Regions from separate parts of the Homo sapiens genome. Here regions 2 and 3 are each linked to region 1. The links are contacts of gene promoters, found by promoter capture Hi-C in blood cells and fetal thymus (Javierre and others, 2016). All regions are on one chromosome and are shown on one strand. Each heading gives the region's core, a stretch centred on a gene start or on the middle of the fragment in contact. The rest is flanking DNA. Distances are from core to core; before and after follow the strand shown.

What was found. Contacts are between HindIII fragments. The CHiCAGO score rates a contact against its expected background, and 5 or more counts as called.
Region 2: the fragment with the promoter of RCN3 here is called in contact with the fragment with the promoter of TEAD2 in region 1 in 7 of 17 cell types (total B cells, non-activated CD4 T cells, total CD8 T cells and 4 more); the score reaches 6.4 in total B cells.
Region 3: a contact is called between the fragment with the promoter of LIN7B here and the fragment with the promoter of TEAD2 in region 1, in 10 of 17 cell types (total B cells, naive CD8 T cells, naive CD4 T cells and 7 more). The highest score is 10.6, in total B cells.

Annotation. Positions count from the first base shown.
Region 1 is chr19:49,359,583-49,363,665 of GRCh38, reverse strand. It overlaps TEAD2 (TEA domain transcription factor 2), which reads left to right and starts at 1,250. Exons shown (of 13, transcript NM_001256660.2): 1 at 1,250-1,333; 2 at 3,585-3,822. The coding sequence starts at 3,591. It also overlaps a transcript of DKKL1 not described here. RefSeq lists enhancers at 1,457-2,165, 2,166-2,875, 3,421-3,921. The HindIII fragment of the contact is 6,430 bases long and covers 1-3,561 here.
Region 2 is chr19:49,525,507-49,529,992 of GRCh38, reverse strand. RCN3 (reticulocalbin 3) reads right to left here and starts at 1,990. Exons shown (of 7, transcript NM_020650.3): 1 at 1,935-1,990; 2 at 1,279-1,526. The coding sequence starts at 1,520. FCGRT (Fc gamma receptor and transporter) reads right to left here. Exons shown (of 7, transcript NM_001136019.3): 6 at 4,420-4,486; 7 at 3,565-3,983. The coding sequence ends at 3,874. RefSeq lists a silencer at 1,913-2,032 and an enhancer at 1,496-2,074. The HindIII fragment of the contact is 8,718 bases long and covers 1,650-4,486 here.
Region 3 is chr19:49,112,564-49,117,218 of GRCh38, reverse strand. LIN7B (lin-7 cell polarity scaffold B) reads right to left here and starts at 2,849. Exons shown (of 6, transcript NM_022165.3): 1 at 2,778-2,849; 2 at 2,252-2,370; 3 at 1,888-1,959; 4 at 747-956. The coding sequence starts at 2,814. RefSeq lists a silencer at 2,450-3,029. The HindIII fragment of the contact is 9,910 bases long and covers 1-3,207 here.

The DNA.
Region 1 (4,083 bases), core at 1-2,500:
CCCACGTCAGTTGACCTCAGTCCTGGAGACCAAGTCCTGGAAGTCCTGGCGGTGTTCTCTGATTGCGGCCCTCGTTTCGGAGTCCCGCCCAATCGCAATGGCCACGCCCCTTGGCTGAAAGCCACGCCCCTGCACTGGGCCACGCCCCTGCACTGGACCACGCCCCTGCGTCCCAGATCTTGCCCTCATCACCCCAAGTTCCAGTCCTAGGCTCCTCCTACTGGAGACACCGGAGTACAAGCATCCCTTTTAGCTCTCACTCTAATTGTGTATCTGTTTCGGAACCTTTTCTCCGTGTCCCTTCTGGTTTTCCCGCTCCCGCTCCACTAAAAAGTCCCGTTGTCTCCGGAAACCCTAAATCCAGTCTTATATTTCATCTTCCAAGGAACCCAGAATCAGACTTCCTTTTCCCTGAGGACCTCAGGTCCGGACTCCCGCCCCCTCTAGTCCCGTAATTTTGAACACGCAGCCTTTCACCCTTAAGGGACCGGGCCCTAAGCCATCTTCCCTCAGGCACCAAAGCTCTCTTCCCCGTCCCGGGACAGCCGCCAGCCGTCTCCAGTCCACTAGCGCCTGTAGATGAGGAATCTGCACCTACGTGGGCCTCCAATAAACTCCCGGTGGTCCTGCCCACGACTCTTAACTGTGGTGAGGTCACAAGGAAACCAGGTCGTCATAGGAATCAGTCAAAACCCATCCCCAGACCCCAATCCTCAAAAAAAAAAAAAAACAAAAAAAACAAAAAACAAAAAAACCAAAAACCAAACAGAAAAAAAGAAAAAAAACCTCAGGGCTTAACAGTAAAGACTCTTTGTATTCGTATCACTTCCGCACCCCCAATACACAAACACGAGGGTAGCCGGGATTCCAGGCGCCTAGCCCCGTCCCCTCTCAGACCTAGGAGCCCATATCTCTCTCCAGCCGCTTCCTCTCCCAGACCCAGGAGTCCCAGCCCCCAGACCCAGGAGTCCCAGCCCCCAGCCTCTCCTCCCTCAGATCAGGGGTTTCTGGCTCCTATCAGCCTTTTCCCTCCGACTTGGAGTCCGAACCCCCAATCCCCCTCCTTTCCCAAGCACCCAAATCCTGAGTTCCTACCAGCCCCGAGATAGACTAATCTCTCCCAAAGCAAAAATCCTTCCCCAAACTGTCACCGTCGGATCCCCCTTCCCGCTGTCCGCCGGCCGGGCCCGCCCCCCCCTCCGGTCCCTCCCACTTTTCCCAAACAAAGCTCCCGGCAACTTTCTCCCTCGCAGCGCCCCGCCCGCCCGCGGCTCCCCAGCCCCAGGCCGGGAGGTAGGAAGGCGCCGGCGGGAGTCGGGGATCCTGCTTTGGGGTGTGTGAGTTGGGGTGGGGAGTTGCTTCTTAGGAGGTGAGGCGTGCGTTTGCGGGACCGTCTCTGAATGGTTCGCAGCCCTCTTTTTGCCCGGGGGCCCGAATTTGCTCCCGTGACCGAGCCTCAGTGAGGAGTGGGAACTCTGGCCGGAGTTAGGGTGCCTGCGGCTGGGTCTGAGTTTGGGCGTGCGCGCAGGAGCGGGTGCGGGCCAAGGGCGCTGGCGGGGTGTGGGGCGTGCGTCTGCGGCGGTGTCACTTTGGAGTGAGAAGGACCCCTTGTGTAATCTGGGGGGCATTTGGTCCTTCTTACGGAGAAGGGAGGGCCTCTGGGGTGGCCGAGGGGAGGTTACGGGGCTTTCTGGATCTTAAGTCTTGCCTCTTTGGAGGTTTAGGGTCTGGGGCGGGAAATTAGGGGGACCTTTCTTACCCGGCTCCACCGTCCCTTTGTCTGGCCACATGGGGAAGGGCTGGGCTGGGATTTTGGCCTACGGGGGTCCTGAACGCCGCAGCGCCACTGGGCTTGGCTGGGGTCTTTGTCTGCTATGGTCGGCGGGAGGAGGGGAATAGGGGCCTGGACTCTGGGGTCCTGGGAAAGCTGTGGAGGACATGGAGCCTCCGGGGAGGCGGGATCTGACTGTATTGGAAAAAGTTTTCCCTGTTCCCGGCCTCCGGAAAGTCACTGGGAACTTGAGTTGGATCAGAGCCCACGGCGCACGGGGGAGGGGAGGGGCGGGGCCCGGTGCCGGAGGGGAGTCGCCCTGGCCGGCAAGCCCCTCCCCTGATGGGGGTTGTGGGAAGCTGGGGGAGGGGACGCCTGGGCCCTTTGTTCTGGCTCTTCTGATGGCAGGGCGCCCCTGTCCCCCAGCTTGTGGTTCTGTGGGTCTCTCCTGGTCTCGGCCTCAGCTGCTGCCCTGAGTCTCTGTCCCTGCCCTTTCTAGGTCTCCGTCTCCCTTTCTCTGGGTCTCTGTTGCCCTCTCTCTGAGCCTCTGTCCCCCTCTCTCTGAGTCTGTGTCCCCCTCTCTCTGGGTCTCTGGTCCCCTCTCTCTCTGGGTCTCTGTCCCTCTCTCTCTGGGTCTCTGTCCCCCTCTCTCTGGGTCTCTGTCACCCTCTCTCTCTGGGTCTCTGTCTCCCTCTCTGGGCCTCTGGACCCCTCTCTCTGGTCCCTGTCCCCCCCCCCCGGTCTCTGTCCCCCTCTTTCTGGTCTCTGTCTCCCCCTCTCCCTGGGTCTCTGTCTCCCTCTCTTTTTGGGTCTCTGTCCCTCTCTCTGGGTCTCTGTCCCCCTCTCTGGTCTCTGTCCCCCCCTCCCTCTGGTCTCTGTCCCCCCCTCCCTCTGGTCTCTGTCCCCCTCTCTCTCTGGGTCTCTGTCCCCTCCGTCACTGGTCTCTGTCCCCCCCTTCACTGGGTCTCTGTCCCCTTCTCTCTCTGGTCTCTGTCCCCCTCTGTCTCTGGGTCTCTATCCCCACCTCACTGGTCTCTGTCCCCCTCTCTCTCTGGTCTCTGTCCCCTTCTCTCTCTGGGTCTCTGTCCCCCCCCCTTGCTGGTCTCTGTCCCCATCCCCTCTCTGGGTCTCTGTCCCCCTCCCTCTCTGGGTCTCTGTCCCCCTCTCTCTAGACCTCCCCTCAGTCTTGCTTGGCCCCTCTTCTTTTCTGGCAGCTGCTGCTCACATCTTACCACCTGTTCTTGGGGTGGGACAGGGGAAGTTTCACCCACACCTTCCTTCCCCACCACTAACTTTTGCCTCCTGTCTTCTTTAAAACCCGTAATTCATACCCGAACCTTTAGCCTTCATGGCCCTCGGCATTACTCTAGGGTAATCATTGTGACTTCATCACAATTGAGTTCCTCTGGAAACTCTGAGAACACTCCCATCCTCAGCTTTCCAAGAAATCCAGCTCCTTCTCCTCCCTCAGACTCAGGAGTCCAGACCCCAGCCCCTTCTCCCTCACACCCAGGAGTCCAGGCCTCCAGCCCCCGCTCCCTCAGACCCAGGAGTCCAGGCCCCAGATCCTCCTCCCTCAGTCCTAGGAGTCCGGGCCCCAGCCCCTCCTCCCTCAGACTCAGGAGTTCAGGCCCCAGATCCTCCTCCCTCAGACCCAGGAATACCCCCCAGCTCCTCTTCCCTCAGACCCAGGAGTCCAGGTCCCCAGCCCCTCCTCCCTCAGACCCAGTGGTCCAGAGTCCCAGCCCTCTCAGCTTCAAGTCCCTTGAGGGTGGGGTTTGGGGGAAGCTTGCTGAGTTCTGTGTTCCTCCAGGCCCAGATGGGGGAACCCCGGGCTGGGGCCGCCCTGGACGATGGCAGCGGCTGGACGGGCAGTGAGGAAGGCAGTGAGGAGGGTACCGGCGGCAGTGAGGGGGCTGGGGGTGACGGGGGCCCGGATGCAGAGGGGGTGTGGAGCCCAGACATTGAGCAGAGCTTCCAGGAGGCCCTGGCCATCTATCCACCCTGCGGCCGCCGGAAAATAATTTTGTCTGATGAAGGCAAGATGTATGGTGAGTCTACTTCTGTCTTTTGCCCTGGCCCCCACTGATGAATAATGACAGTAACCAAGGTTTATGGAGCACTCTGAAGTAGGAGCTAGCATCACCATTTGCACAGATGAGGAAACTGAGGCACAGCTAGGTTAAGTGATTTGCTTATGGTCGCACAGAGCCAGTGCGTGATGGAGCTGGGATTTGAACCCAAGCAGTCTGGCTTCCACGTAGCTGAGGGGACCGGCAGCCCACTTGCTGCAGACCTTTGGGGACCCATGC
Region 2 (4,486 bases), core at 741-3,240, 170 kb before region 1:
GTGACAGAGCGAGACTCCATCTCAAAAACAACAACAACAAAAATAAAAATAAAAAATAAAAATACAAAATTAGCTGGGCGTGGTGGCTAGCGCCTGTAATCCCAGCTACTTGGGAGGCTGAGACAGGACAATTGCTTGAGCCCAGGAGGTGGAGGTTGCAGTGAGCCGAGATCGCACCACTGCACTCCAGCCTGGGTGACAGAGCGAGACTCCATCTCAATAAGTAAATAAATAAATAAATAAATAAATAAAAATTGCAACTCCCCCCCACCAACAACCTCTCCCCTCCACACTTTCTGACTCTCTTGCTTTATCTTTCTTGGATGCATTTATCTCTATTTGATCCACTTTCTACTTATTGACTTCTTGCTGTTTCCCTCACCACAGTGTAAACTTCAGGAGGACAGATGTGTTAGCTGTTGTGACTTCAGCACCTAGAGCAGTGCCTGGCACATAGCAGGTGCTCGATAAACCTTTGCAGGCTCAATCAGTGTCAGGAGGATGCACAGAAGAAGGCGGCTGCTCCCATCGCGCCCCCCTGCGCTCAGGCCTGGACGGAGAGGGTGGACAGGGCTCCATTCCACCCAGCTCACCCTGAAACTCAGGGCTCTGCCACTCTCCTGCACTGGCCGGGCTCCTTAAAGGCCAAACCTCATTTTCCACACCAGTCCCTGCCATTTACAGAGCAGGAAACTGAGGCTTGGGGAGGGGAGATGTCTGGGACAAAAGAATAAGGAGCGCTTAGGGGGCAGAATCTAACCCAGATTTTGCTGCCCTCAAAGGTCCTCTTTTTTATTGTTGTTGTTGTTTTTTAGACGGAGTCTCACTTTGTCGCCCTGACTGGAGGGCAGTGGTGCAATTTTGGCTCACTGCAACCTCCACCTCCCAGGTTCAAGCGATTCTCCTGCCTCAGCCTCCCGAGTAGCTGGGATTACAGGTGCCCACCACCACGCCTGCCTAATTTTGTATTTTTAGTAGAGACGGGATTTCACCATGTTGGCCAGGCTGTTCTCGAACTCCTGACCTCAAGTGATCGGCCTGCCTTGGCCTCCCAAAGTGCTGGGATTACAGGCATGAGCCACCACGCCCGGTCTCAAAGGTCCTCTTTAGGCCTCAATTTTAACTTAATTTCTTTTTCCCAAGGATAGAAGGTAGAATTTCATTTCTCACAAAGAAATGAAGTTCAGTCCACGCCATTTCTCTGACCCCTGTCGATACCCCCGCGTCTCTCTCCTAAGCCCCACCTCTGGACACGCCCCAACCGAATGTCTCTCTTACCCCAGACGGGCCTGGCTTTCCTCTGGGGTGAGTTGGTCGAATTCCTTGGCCACTTCCCGTCCCAGGAAAGCCTCATGGTCGTACTGGAAGTTCCCGTGGGCGTCATCATGGGGAGCGTCGCTCAGGGGGGCCGCCTGGTGCACCCTCCCCTGGCCATGAGGGCCTGCGTCTGGGGATGGCTTCCCCTGGGCCCCGTGCCTCAGTAGCAACAGAAGCAGCAGAACTGATGGTCGCCACATCATCGGTCCCTGGGGAGTGGCAAAGGCCAGGGGTCAGGGGTCACAGGGATGGGGACAGACACGGGATAGGAGAATGGCGGGGTGGAGGGGTTACCTAGGACAGGACAGGGAGTTGGAAGTTGGCTGCAAGCTTTCGGGCTCAAAAAGGGCGGGCGATGGGGGAAAAGAGGGCGGGATGCTTAGAGGTAAAGCCACCTATGGGGAGGACCGAATCTTCTGACGGAGTCTCAGGGGGGTCCCAGACCTGCCAGGGGGAATTACAGAGACAGACGTGGCGCACATCCCACGCAAGGTGCAGGGCATAGTTGTGGCCAGCGAGAGGTCAGGCAGGCTCCCCGTCATTGCTCCCAGTCCGGACCCTGGTCCTCGACCCGAGCCGCCCTCCCTGGACAGAGGCCCCCCACCCACTCCCTTTACCCTGTTATCCAGCTTCGCTCCGCTCTCCACGCTCCGCTCTGCGTTCCCGCAAATGTGCCCAATTCGGCCGCTCTCCAGTCAGGCCCCGCCTCTGGCAGCGCAGAGCCCCGCCCCCCGCCCAATGAGCTCGCACGAGCGTCTCACGGGGCGGGGCCAATGAGTGCACGGGGTGCCGCGGGCACTCCTCGCCACGTCCACAAAGGAAACCGCGGCCTGCCCGGGGAAGAAGGGTGGGCGACACCGCAGTGACGCGGCCGGGGAGAACTACAACTCCTGGCAGTCGTCGCGGCACTCTGCCGTCCACCTCCAGCTGTTCTAGTCACAACGCCTCACGGGAAATGTATTTTTCCCTTTCCCTTTGTCAGGATGGTTTAAGAAAGAGGTGTACGTTCCAACACTTCTATACCAAACAAAACAAAACAAAACAAAAATAAACAAAAAGAACGAAAGAAAAGAAAAAAGGCCGGGCGCGGTGGCTCACGCCTGTAATCCCAGAACTTTGGGAGGCCGAGGCGGGCGGATCGCCTGAGGTCGGGAGTTCGAGACCAGCCTGATCAACACGGAGAAACCCCATCTCTACTAAACATACAAAATTAGCCGGGTGTGGTGGCGCATGTCTTTAATCCCAGCTACTTTGGGAGGCTGAGGCAGGAGAATTGCTTGAACCTGGGAGGCGGAGGTTGTGGTGAGCCGAGATCGCACCATTGCATTCCAGCCTGGGCAACAAGAGCGAAACTCCGTCTCAAAAAAAAAAAGAAAGAAAAGAAAAGAAAAGAAAAGGGAGAGCAGAATCAAGGGGCCGGAGGAAATATCCCATTTCCTCCAAGAGTGAACACTGCTCCTCGCTCCTCTTCGGCTCCAAGGATTCAGGTGGTCAGACAGTAGCCAAGAATTCCTCAAAATGCCTGGCATGGCAGTCATCCAGTAAATATTTGTAAAAGTTATGAATTAAAAATACATGACCTCAGGTTGAGCACAGTAGCTCAATGCCTGTAATCCCAGAACTTTGGGAAGCTGAGGCAGGTGGATCACCTGAGGTCAGGAGTTCCAGACCAGCCTGACCAACATGGTGAAACCCCGTCTCTACTAAATACAAAAAATTAGCCGGGTGTGGTGGTGCATGCCTGTAATCCCAGCTACTTGGGAGGCAGGAGAATTGCTTGAACCTGGGAGGCGGAGGTTGCAGTGAGCTGAGATCACGCAATTGTACTCCAGTCTGAGCAACAAGAGCAAAACTCTGTCTTAAAAAAAAAAAAAAAAAGTGACCTTAGGCCGGGCGCGGTGGCTCACACTTGTAATCCCACCCCTTTGGGAGGCAGAGGCGGGTGGATCATGAGGTCAGGAGATCGAGACCATCCTGGCTAACATGGTGAAACCCCGTCTGTACTAAAAATACAAAAAATTAGCCAGGCATGGTGGCAGGCGCCTGTAGTCCCAGCTACTCGGGAGCCTGAGGCAGGAGAATGGCGTGAACCCAGGGAGGCGGAGCTTACAGTGAGCCGAGATCGCGCCACAGGACTCCGGACTGAGCAACAGAGCAAGACTCCGTCTAAAAAAAAAGAAAAAAGAAAAAGAAAAAGAAAATACATGACCTGATGTATAAAACTGGCAGGTTCCCCTGTGGCAGCATGTTACCTGTAGGAGAGATCCGAGGCCCAGCCGCCATTCAGTCCCCCGACTTATTCCCTTACCTCCCCTGCCTGAAAAATGATGAGAACACACTGATTCGGGCCCAAACTCGTGTTATATTATCGAGGTGGAAAACAGCCATATGTATTAGGAGGGGAAACTGAGGCAGACCACAGGACGGGGCTCCAGAGGGAGGACAACTAGGCCCAGAACCCCTTCTGGAGGCTCAGAGATGCCAGTGTTCCAGGAGGTCTCACAGCATGAAAGGGGCCTGACTACATTCGCTTTTAGCAGTCGGAATGGCGGATGGTCAGGCGGTGGCTGGAATCACATTTACATCCTTCAAATCAGCATCCTGGGCCTCCCCTGGGGTGGGCAGGAGGACCCCGGTGTCGTCTCCACGAAGGGAGATCCAAGGGGCTGAGGAGAGAGAGAGAGGGAGAGGTCATCAGAATCTCTGAGGCGCTCTGGGTCTGACTGGCGTCCCCCATTTGTGTGTGTGTCTCACACACTCTTCCTCAGTCTCTATCCCCTTCCTTCTGGGCCTTTGTCTCCCCTTCTCCCAATTTTCCGTCCCCCCTCTTTCTACATCTTTGCCTCCCTCCTCTGGGTCTGTCTCCCCCTCCCTCTGTCCGCACCTCTCTCTGTCCCCTCTGGGTCTCTGTTCCCCCGTCTCTGGGTCTCTGTCTCCGTCCCCCTCTCTCTGCACCTCTGTTCTCCCATCTCTGGGTTTCTGTCTCCACCTCTCTCTGATCTCTGTCCCCCCTCTCTGGGTCTCTGTCCTCCCAGGTCTGTGTGCCCCTCTCTTGGGGTCTCTGTCCCTCTCTCAGAGGCTCTTCCTCCCGCTGCCCCCCACCTGGCAGCCCACTCCTCATCCTTCTCCACAACAGAGCTCCTCCTACAGCCGCTGCCGTGAGTAGCAA
Region 3 (4,655 bases), core at 1,600-4,099, 250 kb after region 1:
GCTGGAGTGCAGTGGTGCTATCTCAGCTCACTGCAACCTCTGCCTCCCAGGTTCAAGCGATTCTCCTGCCTCACCCTCCCAAGTAGCTGGGATTACAGGTGCCTGCCACCACACCTGGCTAATTTTTGTATTTTTAGTAGAGATGGGATTTCACCATGTTGGCCAGGCTGGTCTTGAACTCCTGACCTCAAGTGATCCACGTGCCTCAGCCTCCCAAAGTGCTGGGATTACAGGTGTGAGCCACCGCACCCAGCCTAACCACAGTGATTTTAATTACCTGCATGCCCCAGACCTCCATCAGAACTAAGCCCTTTCTTTTCAGCTCAGAGGTATGCCAAGTCAGTATCCTTATCTACAGTACCCTCAGCAGGAACACCCTGTACCTTGTTTGCCTGGAGAACTCCTACTCATCCTTTAACACCCAACCCAAATGTTCCTTACTCTGCAAAACCTTCCTGTATCTATGCTGGCCTGGTGCCACATCTGGGCTGTCACAATACTTTGCACTTCCTCATTATTATGTCTCTGGATTAGGACTATTTCAGCCGGGGCCTACTGCCCTCCCCAGAGAGAGAAGGTTGAGTGTAGGGAGCTGAGGCCAACATCTCTCAGAGTCTGTAACATTGCCCAGCACAGGGCTAGCCATACAGACAACACTCAGTGTGTGTTGAGTGAATGTCAAAAGCAGGGGCTATGCTACGTTAGACAGACTGTGTCCCCCAGTCCTGCCTCAGCCCTCCACTCACCACACCGTTCACCGACAACAGTTGATCCCCACGCTTGAGGCCTCCATGGCGGTCAGCCACACCCCCTGGGATGACCCGGGAGATGTAGATGGGCGAGTTTTGCTCTTTGCCACCCATGATGTTGAAGCCTAGGCCCTCATCCGTCTTGGGTAGCTCCACTACCCTGGGATGTGCGTGGCCCTCGCTGGCTGTGAAGGCAGCCACTGTGGCCTGGGAGAGAGAAAGCGACTGAAGATGAGGGCCCCTTCCAGGTAGGCATGAAAGCTGGGGTGGGGGATGTGGACCGAGGACAGCGATTTAGCCTGGGTTACTATCCCCAAGCATGGGACACTTGTCATGGCACAATGCACGATCCCCCTGTAATGACTGTGCGTCTCTTTCTGTTCACTTGCAAGAGAAAGTGTCCATTTGGTGTGTGTCTTGAATACCCCATACTTGCCAATCTTACTTTTTTTTTTTTTTTGAGATGAAGTCTCACTCTGTTGCCCAGGCTGGAGTGCAATGGCATGATCTCGGCTCACTGCAACCTCGGCCTCCTGGGTTCAAGCGATTCTCCTGTCTCAGCCTCCGGAGTTGTAATCCAGCTGGGATTACAGGCACTCGCCACCACGCTCGGCTTTTTCTTTCTTTTTTTTTTTTTTTGTATTTCTGTGGAGACGGGGTTTCACCATGTTGGCCAGGCTGGTCTCGAACTCCTGACCTCAACTGATCCACCTGCCTCGGCCTCCCAAAGTGTTGGGATTACAGGCGTGAGCCACCGTGCCTGGCCTCAATCTTACTTTTAAACAGAGGAAAGCCAGGCCTGGAGGGAGATCTGAGCCTCCGGACAGCAGCAAGAGGTAGCAGCATCTAACTATTGTGCAGTGAGAGGTCAGAGCGCCATGAGTTTCCTGGTTTGCACTGTACAGATGTTGAAGGTTATCTTCTACCAACCATGCCATACTGTTTCCATTTGCAGTTGCTAAAGATGCCTTAGTATGACATTTAAGTTAAAAATGTGCGATTATTTACTAATAGTAAGGTGGCACATAGATTTAGCAAAAATCATGAGGGAGGAAACAGAAATGACTGGCATGAAGGAGATATTGAGTTCGACTAGGCAGTTAAATAGACACCAGGAGCAATGGGGTGCGGGGCCCACCTTGGCTGTGGCATGGGCTCGGATCTCGGCGCTGCCGGTGATGTCCAGCGTGTCATAAAGCTGCTCATACACCTGGGTGAGGAGGCAGCGGCATCAGGGAGTCGCCAGCTCCTCCAGCCCTAGACGCAGGAGTTCAGGCCTCTAGACCCTCTCCCGCTACCACGCAAGGATCCGCCCCGCCCCCGCAACAGAAGGCCGAGAAAACTACAACTCCCGAAGAACCCCTGAGCTGAAGCGTTGGCACCCCAAGGCGGGCCGCCTCGGGAGCTGCCGGGAGGCGTAGTCTCCGGGCTCGGGACAAGCAGGAGGAGGAGGAGGAGGACGACGGCCACCAGCTCGCGCCCCTGCGCCGCGCGCCCCTCACCTCTCGGATAGCGGAGCAGAAGCGGCTCTGCAGAACTCGCTGGAGGGCCTGCAGCTTCTGCGGCGGCAGCTCCCCGCTGCGCTGGAGCCGCTCGAGGAGCTCAACCGCCCGGGACACGTCTGCGGGGCGGGGGCGGGGCGCAGAAACCCCGAGTGTCAGAGACCCCGAGACGCAGAGAAGCAAGGAGAGCGGCGGAGTGAGGCCGAGCGCACAGTCCGGGGAGGACGGCCGAAGCCTAGTCGGACACCCCGCAGAGTCCAGGGTGGCGCAGGAGAGACTGCCACCAGCGGCCCTGCGGCCCCGGGACCCCTCCACAGGCCGGGTTGTAAGGCGGGCGCCCAGCGTCCCGGCCCGCGCCCAGGGAGCCTCCCACACCTAGCGACCGCCCGGCCCCGGCGCCCGCCCCGCCCACCCCCTCCGGGTCCGCTGGCCCACCCGCACTGGCCTGACCCGGGAAGGGCGGGGACCGGGGGCTGGGTATGTAGGCCGCGGCCCGGGTGGGCAGGGCCCCCTGGCGCACGCTTACCCCGCTCCAGCCCCAGCGGCTCCACCAGCGCAGCCATGTCGGCGCCACAGCTGCCAGCCGCCCGCCTGCCCTGGCGCCGGCGAGGAGGGCGGGGCTGCGCGAGGCCACGCCCCGGGCCACGGGCGCCCCCTGCGGAGGCGCAGCCTGGAGAGCGCCCAGCTCTCCCTCGCCCGACTGCTCCGACCACCTGCCGCGCGCCAGCCGCGCCCTGCCCTCCGCCCCGGCCAGTCGGTCCTGTTGGCGACCCCTCCCACTGCAGGTTCGGTCTGTGTGTACCTTTCAGGATCCGTGTCTGCCTGCCCTCCACACCCGTCTATCCCCTGTCCATCCTTTCCCCACATTCATTCAACAAACTCTTGTGAAACATCTGAGCCCAAGTCATGGACACCGTGGTGAGCAGGACAGCCAAGCCCACGGCCCGAACGAAGCTTCCAGTCTATAGGGGAGGTAGACGACCAACTACGGCTGTGATGAGAGCTGAGAGTGGGGAGGTGATGATCTAGAAAACGAAGGAAATCCTAGAGGAGGGACATTGACATACAGTCCTGGGAGGTAAGATGAACAAGAGGTGGAGCTTGGGTCACCCCCACCACCCAGAAAGAGCCCACGTGGCTGGAAGCAGAGTTAGGATTGGTTGATGATGAGGTGAAAAGGTCGGCAGGATAGTTTATGCCTGGGCTCCTGCGTTGGCATATGCGCCTTGAGGATTTGGGGCTTCATGCAAACTCCTAAGAGAAAAATATGACACTCAAATTTGTATTATTATTATATTATTATTATTATTATTTTTGAGACGGAGCCTCGCTCTGTCGCCCAGGTTGGGCCTCAAATTTGTATTTTAAGATCACTGGGGCCGGGCACGGTGGCTCACACCTGTAATCCTAGCGCTTTGGGAGGCTGCAGCAAGACTACTTGAGCCCAGGAGTTCAAGACCAGCATAGGCAATATAGTGAGACCTCGTATCTATTGAAAAAAAAAAAATCACTGTAGCCACTGTGGAGACTGGTTTGGACAAGAACAAGAGGAGAAGCAGCGGGGCAACTTACGAGGCTACCACAGCCATCCAGGTGGCAGCTAGCACCAGGGCCAAAGCACAGAAGATGGGTGGGCAGATGTGGGAAATGTCTAGACAAGCCTTGGTGCTTGGCTATATAAGGGGATTGGGAGGTGCAGGAGAAGACAGTATTAAGGTGCTTTGGTGCCATTTTTAAGATGGTCTACACTGAAAGAGGGATACTGGATATTTTGTTTTTGAGACACAGTCTTCCCTCTGTTGCCCAGTCTCGAGTGCAGTGGCGTGATCTCGGCTCATTGCAACCTCTGCCTCCCGGGTGCAAGCAATTCTCCTGCCTCAGCCTCCTGAGTAGCTGAGAGTACAGGTGTGCACCTCCACACCTGCCAAATTTTTGTATTTTTCATAGAGATGGGGTTTCACCATGATGGCCAGGCTGGTCTCGAACTCCTGACCTCAAGTGATCCACCTGCCTCAGCCTCCCAAAGTGCTGGGATTACAGGCGCGAGCCACCTTGCCTGGCCGATACTGGATATTTTGAATTTGAGGAGCCTATGCAGAATCCATGGGGAGAAACTATCGATCTAGGTCTAGGGCTCAAAAGAGCAACCTGGTCTGCAGGCATGTTTGAATATTGGGGCATAGGTGGTAAATAAAACCACCGGAGTGGATAAGAATGTCAGGGGCAAGCGAATATTAAGACGGCCTAGAACTGGTCCCCAGACCTCTCTAACACTTAAAAGTCAGGAGGACAGCAGAGAATGGCCTGAAATGTAGGCAGAAACCCAGGTGGGAGAAACCATGAGAAGAGGGGTTTTTAAATTTTATCTTCTTTTTTTGTTTGTTTTAGATGGAGGGGTCTTTGT